Linked DNA regions of Homo sapiens: region 1 is linked to region 2. Evidence: promoter capture Hi-C in human tissues and cell types (Jung and others, 2019). All regions are on one chromosome and are shown on one strand. The core of a region is centred on a gene start or on the middle of the fragment in contact, and the rest is flanking DNA. Distances in the headings are between cores, read along the strand shown. Region 1 has its middle 16 kb from the start of KRT5. Region 2 holds the start of KRT74 (keratin 74).

Region 1 (5,616 bases), core at 1,171-3,670, 37 kb after region 2:
GGTAGAGGGAAGATTCTTTCTCGATTTTCTCCCCAAAGCAAACAAAGTGAGTACCAGGGAAAGGGGCCCCATGCAGGCTGAGGCAGGTTTGGAAAGAGAGTTGGTGGGGACACTGCACCCTCTGAAGCCAGAAAGGCTGGGGCATTCCCTCTGCACATCCTCCCAGGCAAGTCCAGCTCAGCCTCAGGGCTCTCTGGATCTGAGACCCCTTAATCCATGGTCAGGGGTAATGGAAGGCATTTTCCCAACTCAGATGGAGGTGGCAGGGCCACACCTTTGAGCATCCTTCATGTTTGTGAGCAGCGTAGGTGTCCCTGGGTAAATGCTTTGGCTGGAAGAGATGTGCAGTGAGGGAGCCCTGAGCCAGGCCCAGAGCCTCCAGACCACTACAGTCAGACGTTAGGAGTCAACCATCATCAAACAGCATTTCACATCAGCTGCTGGGGCTGATTTGGAGCTCCAGAGAGCCAGCCTTTTATTTTGCCAAAATTGGACATTAAGAGTGCAACAATCACCACCCACTACCGTCATCATTTCATAAAAGAAAAGGACAATTTAACAGTAGGAAGGACATTCTCTCAGACTAAGCTCAGCCCTTTAGATAAAGTCAAGCTAGCCCCATGAAAGATTTACTGCATTGCACTTACTTTTCTCAATTGCTTCAGACTACTGAGAAACACATCAAACCTGCGCCCTGTCTCAGCATTTCCCATGTCACCTCTTTGTACCTCAGGGTCCTCATCTACACGATGGGAATATGACCACACTGTCAACTGCACAATGTTCAGAAAATCACCAAAAGGGATGGAGAAGGGGAAGCACACAGAAAAATACCAGGATCTCCTGCCTGTCAGGAACAAGGATGGCGATGATGAGGGTGACGACGATCCTGCAGGAGCGATGCCTTGCAGGGGTGAGGGGCCTGGCTCTGGGCCCAGCCTCCAGCAGGGCTGCCACACTTAGCAAGTTCTTTAATCTTCTTGAGTCTCTTTTCGCTTCTGTAGAAGTGAGGATAATAATAACAATAACAGTAATAATAATAATAATAACTACTTCTTTGCATCTTTTTGTTTGAGACATAAAATCCCAGGCCCATAGTAAGAGCTCAATAAATGTTAGCTATAGCAATAAATGATTACTATTATTAGATACAATAATACCTACCCTAGAAACTGTGGGTAATTTTTAGGGGTTCACTGGGGACTCTAGTCCTAAATCGATTTCCCAGCAGCGGGAGTACTTGTCTCCTCCTCCTTCTTCTTGTGCCCTAGACCAGTGTATTTTAGACCACGTTTCTGAAATGTTGCCTCCTCCAGGGGACTAATCAGAGCTTCAGTCTCTAACTTCCTTCTCCATCTCACCCCACTGCAGTGGAACTTTCCCCTGTACTTCTCCCTGAACCGAACTCTTGGAGTCTCCTTCTAAGGCCATGCCTTGCTCCAAAGTTCATGATTTACTTTAAACAGGATTGCTACTTCTACCCCCAAGTACCCCCTCCTCGACCTTTGGAAGTCTTGATCAATGTGTCCCCTGCATCCTGGAGGTTCCTGGTGGGCACAGCTTGGGTGGTGTAGTGTTTTTTGTGTGTGGTGTTCATGGCAGAATTGCTGCAGGCTGCACAAGGTGTTTGCGATGATGGCGATTACAAGAAACCTGCAGAGCCGCAGAGCTGTGTCCCCAGTGCTCTGGACACCATTCACTGGCACAGACTCCCCTCTCTGTGATGTAGGCACCCCTTGGTCTTGCTTCAGAGCTATCTTTGATGGGGTTAGAAAAGACTAGCAGACAGGTGGGAGACCTAGTCACCACCTGACATCCTGAGTGCCAGGCCTGTCAGCAGCCAGTACCGAAGGGCAAGAGCAGGCAGGCAGGGCTGGGGCTGAGTGCCAACCTGGGGAATGACATCTCTGTGGCACTGTGGTTGACTATCCAGGGCACGTGTCTACAAACTGGGATGGGAGGCAGGACAGTGGAGTGGAGAATAGACTGAAAAAGATGTCCAAAGTGGAAAAAAGGGAGGAGGGGAAGAGGAGGCGCAGGGACCTCTAGTCCACACCTCTGAGACTCTGCGGATTTGGAAAATGAAGGAAGGGAAGGGACAGGCTGTCAGTGCCACAAAGGACAGGGCCTGGGCAATGGGCTCACAGGGTAGCGAGAGGGGTGGAGACAGTGGTGTGCTGGTAACTAAAGTGTGCTGCTGAGCCTAACAACCAGCTCTCTGAAAAAATGCATAGATGTGTATATATACAAATATATATACATGTAAATGTGTATTTATGTTTATGTTATAAGTTTACTAGAAGTTTTACTGCTATATTAGATATGTAGCATACAGTTTACAAATAATAATAAAATCTACAAGTCTTTTTTTTTTTTTTTTTTTGAGACGGAGGCTCGCTCTGTTGCCCAGGATGGAGTGCAGTGGCACCATCTCGGCTCACTGCAAGCTCCGCCTCCCAGGTTCAAGCCATTCTCCTGCCTCAGCCTCCCAAGTAGCTGGGACTATAGGCGCCCGCCACCACGCCCGGCTAATTTTTTGTATTTTTATTAGAGATGGGGTTTCACCATGTTAGCCAGGATGGTCTCGATCTCCTGACCTCATGATCCACCCACCTCGGCCTCCCAAAGTGCTGGGATTACAGGCGTGAGCCACCGTGCCCAGCCCTACAATACTCTTTATTATAAACTTGATACAGCCAAGTGACCCTCATGGAATGCTTTCAGTTGGCTTTTGACAAACTCTTATGCCCATGGCTGGCCAGTGGCTGCAACCAACAAACCAGCATAGCCCCCACATGAATGTTAGCTCCCATGTTCATCTTCACAGTTAAGATGAACGTGAAATGATGAAGATGAATGTTGGAACTTACTTGCTCCTCAATGATGTGAGTGACTTTTTGGCTGAATCAGATAATGGGTTTTAAATACCGGGATATTATTTTGTATTTTTTGGCTATTCATAATGTTATTATCAATGGGCACAACATACTTTTAATTTTAATCTACGTTATAAACATTTTCCCCATCACTTTATTAAATTTAGACCAGAGCTGTCCAGTAGAAATGCAATGAAAGCCACAGATATTATTTAAAATCTGCTAGTAGCCACATTTAAGGAATAGACTAAATTAATTCTAATATATTTGACATAATATATAGAAAACACTATTCTTTCAATAGATAATCAATATAAACATTTTTGATGATATATTTTACATTCTTTTCTTCCATTCTGAATCTTCAATATCCAGTACATATGACATATCTAAGCTTGGACTAGCCACATTTCAAGTGCTCAGTTAGCCACATGGAACTAGTGGCAGCTGTGTGAGGCTGTGCAGCTCCAGACAATCAACCAAACAATAAACCAAGCTCTGATTTGTAGTGCTTGCCAGTTCGCTTGGGGTAAATTCTCCCACAAAGGTGATTTCAAGCTACCAACATGATGTCACTGATTACAGGCTGGAAAGAGATGTGAACACCATGGTAGGGGATTTCTGCATGTAGATTCAATAAATGTCAACAACCACAAGAACTTTGATAATATATCAAAGTAAAGTATAATAAAATTAGAAAATGATGAGTTTTAAACATTTCTTCCCTTTGTTTTTAATGCAATGTATTTAACTATAATTTTACATAATTTAATTTGAATTATGGCTATGTTTAATAACAGCTCACAACGTTCTTCAAAATTTAACAATCGGCTTTTGCAAACCCTTTCAGTTTGCTCTACCACAACAGTAGTCAGATATAAGAACACAGGGAGGTCTTCAAATGAGACGTGGTTTTTTTGCAACGATCAAAATGGGATTTATGTTTAGTGAAACTTAACAGACACTTATTGAGGTACCATCTGGTACAGGGATGATGCTGGAGGGTTGGCGCAGGACAGGGTGGCTACAGAATGAACACAATGTGATTCTGGCCCTCAGAGGTATTAAGGTTCTAAGGAAGCACAGATGATCACAGTAATAATAATATGTGCAAGTTAAAATGGTGGCCCTGAGGGTTGTGGATCCCAGAGGTGGCAAGGTTAAAGGGCATTTGGGTTCCAGACCTGGCTCTGTCTCTAAGTCACTGCCTCATTTTGCCCTCAGTTTCCCTTCCTGTTAAATGAGGGGGTTGAGCTGGGTGAACCCCCAGGTTTCCGTCCAGCCTCCAAGGTGGGTCTTCCAATGTAGCGACTGAAGAGTGTGGCTTTCTGGATTAAAGGGCATTGGAGCTGGGCTTTAAAACACTGCCTTCTCCAATGTCAGGAACTGTGAAGGTAAAAGGGGCAGGAACATGAAAGAAGCTTTGGGAAGATGAGATCCCTGGGCTGAATGCAAAATAAAGAAGGAAGAGTAAAGGGGGTAAGTACCAGAGTTTTAGGGGTAGGAGTGATGTTAGAGTTTATCTAGAGATCTACTAGGCCAGGGCTTCAGATTACAGATGGGGAACCTGAGGCTTAGAGGCGTTAAATAACTTGCCCCAGGTGACGCAGCCAGAAGGTGGCAGAATCAGGTCCACGTGACTCTATACAGATAAGGATATATGCAATGTGTGCTTTTTATGCCCAAACTCACACCTTCGGGTGGCTATTCCATATAACAACTTATTTCTAAATGTTTGGGTCTAGGATAATCATGGATGAAACCAAAACTAAAATTTTTCTTCTTATATGAAGACGGTTGGGTCCAGGATGCTCAAAAGGATGTCCTGAGAAAATGGCATGGAATATGGGGCAAATTCTATGAAAATGCGTAAGGAAAATGTAAAAACTGATAAAGCTGATAAAGCAATTTGCTTACATGAGCCCCTGAGAAAGGTCGAGGTGTTTGGGTACCTCAGCTTTGCATCTGCTGTCAGGAGGCCCCAGCAGCTTCCTCTTTACATCTGAACGCTTAGCCCAGCTGGCCTGGTGTCAAGCAGAACACAGTCAGCAGGCCGGGAGCCCAGGCAGGCCTATCCCCTCCATGCTCCGAGACAAAGCCTCCACTTCTAAAATGTCTCCAGGCCAGTGGACCAAGAGGTTTGAGTCTCCCACAGACGGACCCAGTAGGCCAGGCTCAGTTGGAGATTTTAATTTTGGACTCGTCAGAGTTCCAGAACTCTGGAATGTGGCAGCATGGAGAGAATTCCCAGCTCCTGGCCTGCAGCCTGCCCCTTTCTCTTCCTACCCCTGGCTTTGCTCCCTTGCCTACACAACCACAATCTGCAGACAGCCTAGAGGTGTGCCCAGCACCCGGCAGTCTGCTCTCCAGAGGACAGGCCTGAGCGTGGGCTGGGAGTCACTGGGGAGGGAATGCTGGGGTTTTAGGTAGCTGAGCGGGTCTAGAAGGGGAGTGTGGACCCCATGAGCATGGCCCTTGGCCCTGCAGACTCCTCACTCTGTGGAACAAGGGCAACTAGAAGGCCCAAGGCAGGGGCCCCTCTTGACCAAGTCTAAGGGGACTTTGGAGACAGCACCCACACTTGGGACACCAACTGGGGGAGAACCAGGTACCCAGGCCAAGCTTCCGGTGTCAAAAGACAGGAGGACGGGATAGGAAAGGAGAGGTGCAGAGCCCGTCAAGGAAATGGGAATGGGAAATAAACACAGAGATAAACCTTGAAGGTGGGAATAGTGATCAT
Region 2 (5,895 bases), core at 754-3,253:
GAATACTTCCAGCCCCACTACCTCTGAGCCACTACTCTGAGCCAGCACCTGTAGTGGGCGTTGTTGGGAATATAAGCCTGGCTTCTGGAGATCCCCAAAAACCCTAATCAAGATGAGCCATTCCTCAGTGCACCTCTGATTCGTGGTTCATAATGCTTTTCTGTCATTCCAGAGCTTTGGCTCTACTTTAAGTTCTTTGTGTAGATTCCTCTCATTGGTCTGCAGGCTTCTTGGTGGCTGGGGCCCTAGGACAGTCACCCCCAGGTTAAGGAACTCACGCCATTTTTTGTCTTGCACACTCCAGCACAGGAGGGCGGCAAACCCAGCATCTGGCGGCACCCCTGCTGCTGCCCTTGCAACCTGACTTAGAAAACCACAAGCAACCCCTTCGATTACATGCTCCTGTGCTGTAGGGCTAGGCCCTGCCGGGAAAGCCCCCCGAGACAGGGTCCCTGGGGAAGGACCTTCCACCGTTACCTCAGGGGCTGAGAGGAAAACACCCTGTGAAGGGGAAATTCTTCCGGGGCAGCTTCCAGGCCTAAGCTCCACGCTCCCTGCCCAGGTCAGCTTCTCCTTTTCCCTCCCCAGCAGTGGGAGCAGTTGTCTTCTGCCCTCGGCTGGATCCAAACAAGCCAAGTGTTCTCAGTTTAGTTATAGGAAGTGGTCAGAGTCTTGCATGAGGGCAGCTGCCAGATACCTAGCTTTGAAATAATTTTTTTTGTTTTTTGGAGACAGAGTCTTGCTCTGTTGCCCAGGCTGGAGTGCAGTGGCACAATCTAGGCTCACTGCAACCTCTGCCTCCCAGGTTCAAGTGATTCTTCTACTTCAGTCTTTTGAGTAGCTGCGACTACAGGCATGCACCACTGCGCTCGGCTGATTTTTGTATTTTTAGTAGAGGCGGGGTTTCACCATGTTAGCCAGGCTGGACTCAAACTCCTGACCTCAGGCAATCTGCCCTCCTTGGCCTCCCAAAGTGCTGGGATTACAGGTGTGAGCCACCATGCCCAGCCCTGAAATAATTTTTTAACATTGCACTGTACCCACACTACCTGAGCTATAAAGCAGTGATACTTCCTGTTTGAAAATTGAGTGCTCCCTGAAGTTGCCAGGAAACTGGCAGAACAGCCCACCCTGAACCTGGGAGTGAAACTCAGGGGGTCCTGTTCCTTGGTGACTTCAGCCATAGGGTGTTTCCCCAGGGAGTGCAGGGGCTAATATCCCAGCTCCTGCCTGACTTCCTAGAGTAGGACAAATAATCTTATCCAGGAGAGAAAATCCAACTGGAGGAAATGCAGCTGACTGGAAAGGTTCTCATGGTTGTAAGGCAATGTCAAGGTCACCACCACCCAGGCCCTGCCCAACACAGAAGGCCCTAGACAATATCCCTGCTAGGGGGGCATGCAGATGCTGCAGAGTCATTCCTCTTCCTTCCTGGGGTCCACTTCACTGCTAGACAGCTGTGGTCCTTAGCATGGCCCAAGGACGGACCCTGGAGCTTCTTACCCAGATCCAGATCTTTGAGGACATCTTTCCAAGAAGAATCATCTTTCCATGTCTTCTTTTCCCTGAGGTAAAAATTCCAGCTTCCACACAAGACCCTATAATAGAGAGATGGTTTCTTTTGGGAAGAAACCTGGGGTTTTTCAGGTGAGTCTACTCTGGGGAAAGCCAGGCATTTCCCCTGCTCCTTGCTGATGGTTAAGCAAGAAGGAGGTAGCACTGGAAAAATAAAGCTAGGAGATCTCTTCAGGGGATAACTCTTCAGGTCCTTAATTAGGGAGCACAGATAAACTCCAAATTAGACCACTCCACTCTGCAAGGGCAGCATATTCCACTTGCTATCAGAAGAGCTTTGTTGCTGCAAAGGGCTTGGAGATCTCTGTTCTACAAATTGCCCATGGCCCCTGGCCCATCAGCAGGGGAAAGGAGATAGTGGAGAGACGCCCTTTTCCGGTGTCCTGGGCTCAACAGGGATAAAAGGAGGCAGCACTCTGGGTGCCCCATCAGTGTGTTCTCTACCCCTTGGAGACTGCTTTTCTCCAGCTCTGTCAACTCAACCTTTCCCACCATGAGTCGGCAACTGAACATCAAGTCCAGTGGTGACAAGGGCAACTTCAGTGTGCATTCGGCAGTGGTGCCAAGGAAGGCTGTGGGTAGCCTGGCTTCTTACTGTGCAGCTGGCAGAGGGGCTGGCGCTGGCTTTGGCAGTCGGAGCCTCTATAGCCTTGGAGGGAATCGGCGTATTTCTTTCAATGTGGCTGGTGGCGGCGTTCGGGCTGGAGGTTACGGCTTCAGGCCTGGCTCTGGGTATGGAGGGGGCCGGGCCAGTGGCTTTGCTGGCAGTATGTTTGGCAGTGTGGCCCTGGGGCCTGCATGTTTGTCTGTGTGCCCACCTGGGGGCATCCACCAGGTCACTGTCAACAAGAGCCTCTTGGCCCCCCTCAACGTGGAGCTGGACCCTGAGATCCAGAAGGTGCGCGCCCAGGAGCGGGAACAGATCAAGGTGCTGAACGACAAGTTCGCCTCCTTCATTGACAAGGTGGGTCTCATAGGAGGAGGATGAGGCCGCACCCTGAGGCCTGAGCAGTTTTCCTGCTGCCTGGGAATGGACTGCACACTGTGGCTGGAAAGGTGCAGCTGGGCCTCAGGAAGGGCTTCCTCACCATTAGGGAAGGAGAGTAGGTCTGTGAGCCACGGAGGACAAAGGAATACATGAATATATCGGCTTCTTTGGCGATTTTGCAGGGAAGGATGGGAAGCTGGGTAAAGAGCAGCCCTTCCTTGACAAAAAAGTGATGAGTTTCTTGAGGACAGCTGGATCTTCCAAGAACATGAAAGGCTAATAGAATCCAGCAGTGTTCAGAGGGAAGGGCTCATGGTACAGGAAGAGACACTTAGTTGAGACATAAGGAAGGACATCTCCTGGGACCAGGGCCGAGCAATAGAAGAAAGCTGTGGAAACTCCTTGAGTGAGTTCTCAGTGATGCCTTGTCCAGAAGGCTAGGAAATGAGCACTTGTAAAGGATCTAGTTTGTGTGGAATGGCAAGGGTGGAGAGTCAAGACATGAGCAAAAATGACTACAACAATCTATGGCAAACCTGGGGAGTCAATGGTGTGTGTCCAGGGGGCATGACTGCACCCATTGTGGTTCCAGGTGTCTGTTGATTTGGGTTCCAGGTACGCTTCCTAGAGCAGCAGAACCAGGTTCTAGAAACCAAGTGGGAGCTGCTGCAGCAGCTGGACCTGAACAACTGCAAGAAGAACCTGGAGCCCATCCTTGAGGGCTACATCAGCAACCTGCGGAAGCAGCTGGAGACACTGTCTGGGGACAGGGTGAGGCTGGACTCGGAGCTGAGAAGCATGAGGGATCTGGTGGAGGACTATAAGAAGAGGTGAGCAGGCTCCACCCGAGGGTCACAGACCATGTTTCCCGTGCCTCTGGGCTCACCTGATCTCTGTGCCATTATTTTTTAGGAGATGGGGGAGTATGCACCAGGGTCAGGAGCTCACATCCCTTTCTCTGGCTAGGGGGAAGGGCCTATCCTCTTTGATGATAACTTCCTGCCTAGTTGATAGGAAGCGGTTCCTGTGCTCCTTGACCCACTGAAATGTTCAGTTGCTGGTGTCGGGAGCCCAATAGGCACCTGGGTGTTTTCCTAACATGCAAAAACTAGGAGACAAGTGAAGCAACTCAGGGATATCTTACTCCTGTCACTAGCCTCTTACTGCTCACCCCAGAGACCCTGCAGGGACCCTGTATCCCAAACATTTGCCTGGCCAGCAGGAAGAGAAAGTTCCTTGGCTAAGGGGGCTAAGGCCATCTACTCTCCCTGCTGGCAGATATGAAGTGGAGATTAACCGGCGCACGACAGCAGAGAATGAGTTTGTGGTGCTTAAGAAGGTAAGAGAGGGAGGAGCCTCCTTATTAGGGTCTCTCGCACCCCCATCTTAACAACTCTGCTCAGGACTTCAGCCCAGGAGGCTGGGGAGGGGGCTGGTGCCTGGTGAGGGGGCTGGTGCCTGGTGAGGGTGGAGTCATAGTCCTGGCCTCCAGTGAGTTGGAGAGGAAAGACACACACTCAGGAAATGGACAGAGACAGACAGAATTCTGGTCTGGGAACTGTGAAACTCGGGTCCAGCTCAACCTTGCTGTGTGACCTGAGGAAACCTACTACCTCTCTGGGCTTTGTTTTCTCCAGGCATAACAGAGCTGCCCCATCCTCCTTTCCCTATTCCCAAAGCTTCAGGCAGCCTGAGAAGAAATTGATATTGAGTGAGCTTTCCTTTGTGGGTAGAAAATAGAAAATCAGGTGGCTTTGAGGCAGGAGTTGGGCAGGGCAGCTGTGGGATGAGGGTTGCATCCCCCAATGACTCTGGGGCCTCTTGGCAGGATGCAGATGCAGCCTACGCAGTCAAGGTGGAGCTTCAGGCCAAAGTGGACTCACTGGACAAAGAAATCAAGTTCCTCAAGTGTCTGTATGATGCAGTAAGGACACTCCTGTCCCCCCACCCTCACCCTGCCTCCTTCCCGACTCTTCCAGGGAGATACCAAAAGGAGAGATTTAGGATCAACAAAATGAAAGATGTTTTGGTAGAAAGGTACAAAACCCTGCACCAGGAGACCATGGAAGTGCAGGATGCTGGTCCTTGGAGGCCATACATACAGGAGGAAATTGATCTTGATACAATAGTGGACTTGCCCACGGGCAGGAAAAGATAACCCAGTGAGGTCTTACAAAGCACAGAGCCTTGGATTCTGTGAAATTGTGGAAAATGCATTATTCACCCGTCTGCATGTGCCAGCGGGCATCTGCCATATGCAGGGGTTCCTGCTGCTGTTAGCTGCTCTCCCTCAGCTCTGCAGACACATCCCAGAGGGCACTTCTTCCCCCTACTTTGTCCCCGTGGATCCTAGCAGCCTATTGGGCCAGGGACCATGGGCCCAGAAGACTGATGGGGCAGAAGAGGGAAGCCAGGGGGTTGCTGAATCTGTCTTCCTCTCTCAATGCAGGAGATCGCTCAGATCCAGACTCACGCCAGTGAGACCTCTGTCATCCTGTCCATGGACAACAACCGGGACCTGGACCTTGACAGCATCATCGCTGAGGTCCGCATGCATTATGAGGAGATCGCCCTGAAGAGCAAGGCCGAGGCCGAGGCCCTGTACCAGACCAAGGTGGTCACCGAATGGGTCTCCTCCCACAGCAGCCCTTCGCTTCCTGGGAGGGGTCACCTGCACAGTGAATGTGAGGAATACTTTTGTGGGCATGCTGAATGAAAGAAAGGTTCCAACCAAGGCTTCAAGGAAAAAAGGAATTCTTAGCAGAGCTTGTTATCAAAGATAAATCATGAAACTGGTATGGATTGAATATATGCAACAGAGAGGATCCCTCACTTCTTTCCTCCATCCACGAACTGCCTGTTCCTCTCTGTTGCAGGTGAAAGAAGTGAGGTGGTAAAACAAACACACTTATAGGAATGGGGGCATGTTGCCACAGGGCAGAGGGAGAATCACAGACTTGCGGGAGTGTAGCCATGGGTGAATTTGGTGGGGGGCGAGTGAGAGAAGGAGAAGCCTGTAGCTCTTTCCTGATCCCCACGGGAAGACTTTCAAAAGGAAATGGAAGGCGAGGAGTGCTCTGAGTAATGGAACTATGCTTTGGGTAAACTGAGTAATGGAACTATGTTTGGGGCTGTCAGGGAGAAAACCCCTTACCTGGGCCCCCAGGACCCTGTCCCAGCACTCCTCTTCAGTTCCGTTAAATCCCACCGACAGCCAGGGTGGCAGGGGTGGCTTATTTACAGGACCCTTCCCCAGTGCCCTTGTCTCATCACCAACTTCCTATCTCTGGGAAACCAGATCCAGGAGCTGCAGCTGGCAGCCAGTCGGCATG

The links. The method cuts DNA at HindIII sites, captures the fragments that hold promoters and counts their contacts. A contact is called where the count stands out against the background at its distance.
Region 1: a fragment that was not itself captured here is called in contact with the fragment with the promoter of KRT74 in region 2 in 2 of the 25 tissues and cell types used here (adrenal gland and bladder).

Annotation. Positions count from the first base shown.
Region 1 is chr12:52,533,550-52,539,165 of GRCh38, reverse strand. No RefSeq gene overlaps it. Among named protein-coding and RNA genes, the nearest start is that of KRT5, 16 kb to the right of the region's middle. The HindIII fragment of the contact is 6,747 bases long and covers 1-5,616 here.
Region 2 is chr12:52,569,951-52,575,845 of GRCh38, reverse strand. It overlaps KRT74 (keratin 74), which reads left to right and starts at 2,003. Exons shown (of 9, transcript NM_175053.4): 1 at 2,003-2,539; 2 at 3,179-3,393; 3 at 3,842-3,902; 4 at 4,392-4,487; 5 at 5,013-5,177; 6 at 5,862-5,895. The coding sequence starts at 2,069. RefSeq lists an enhancer at 3,409-3,578. The HindIII fragment of the contact is 9,071 bases long and covers 1-5,895 here.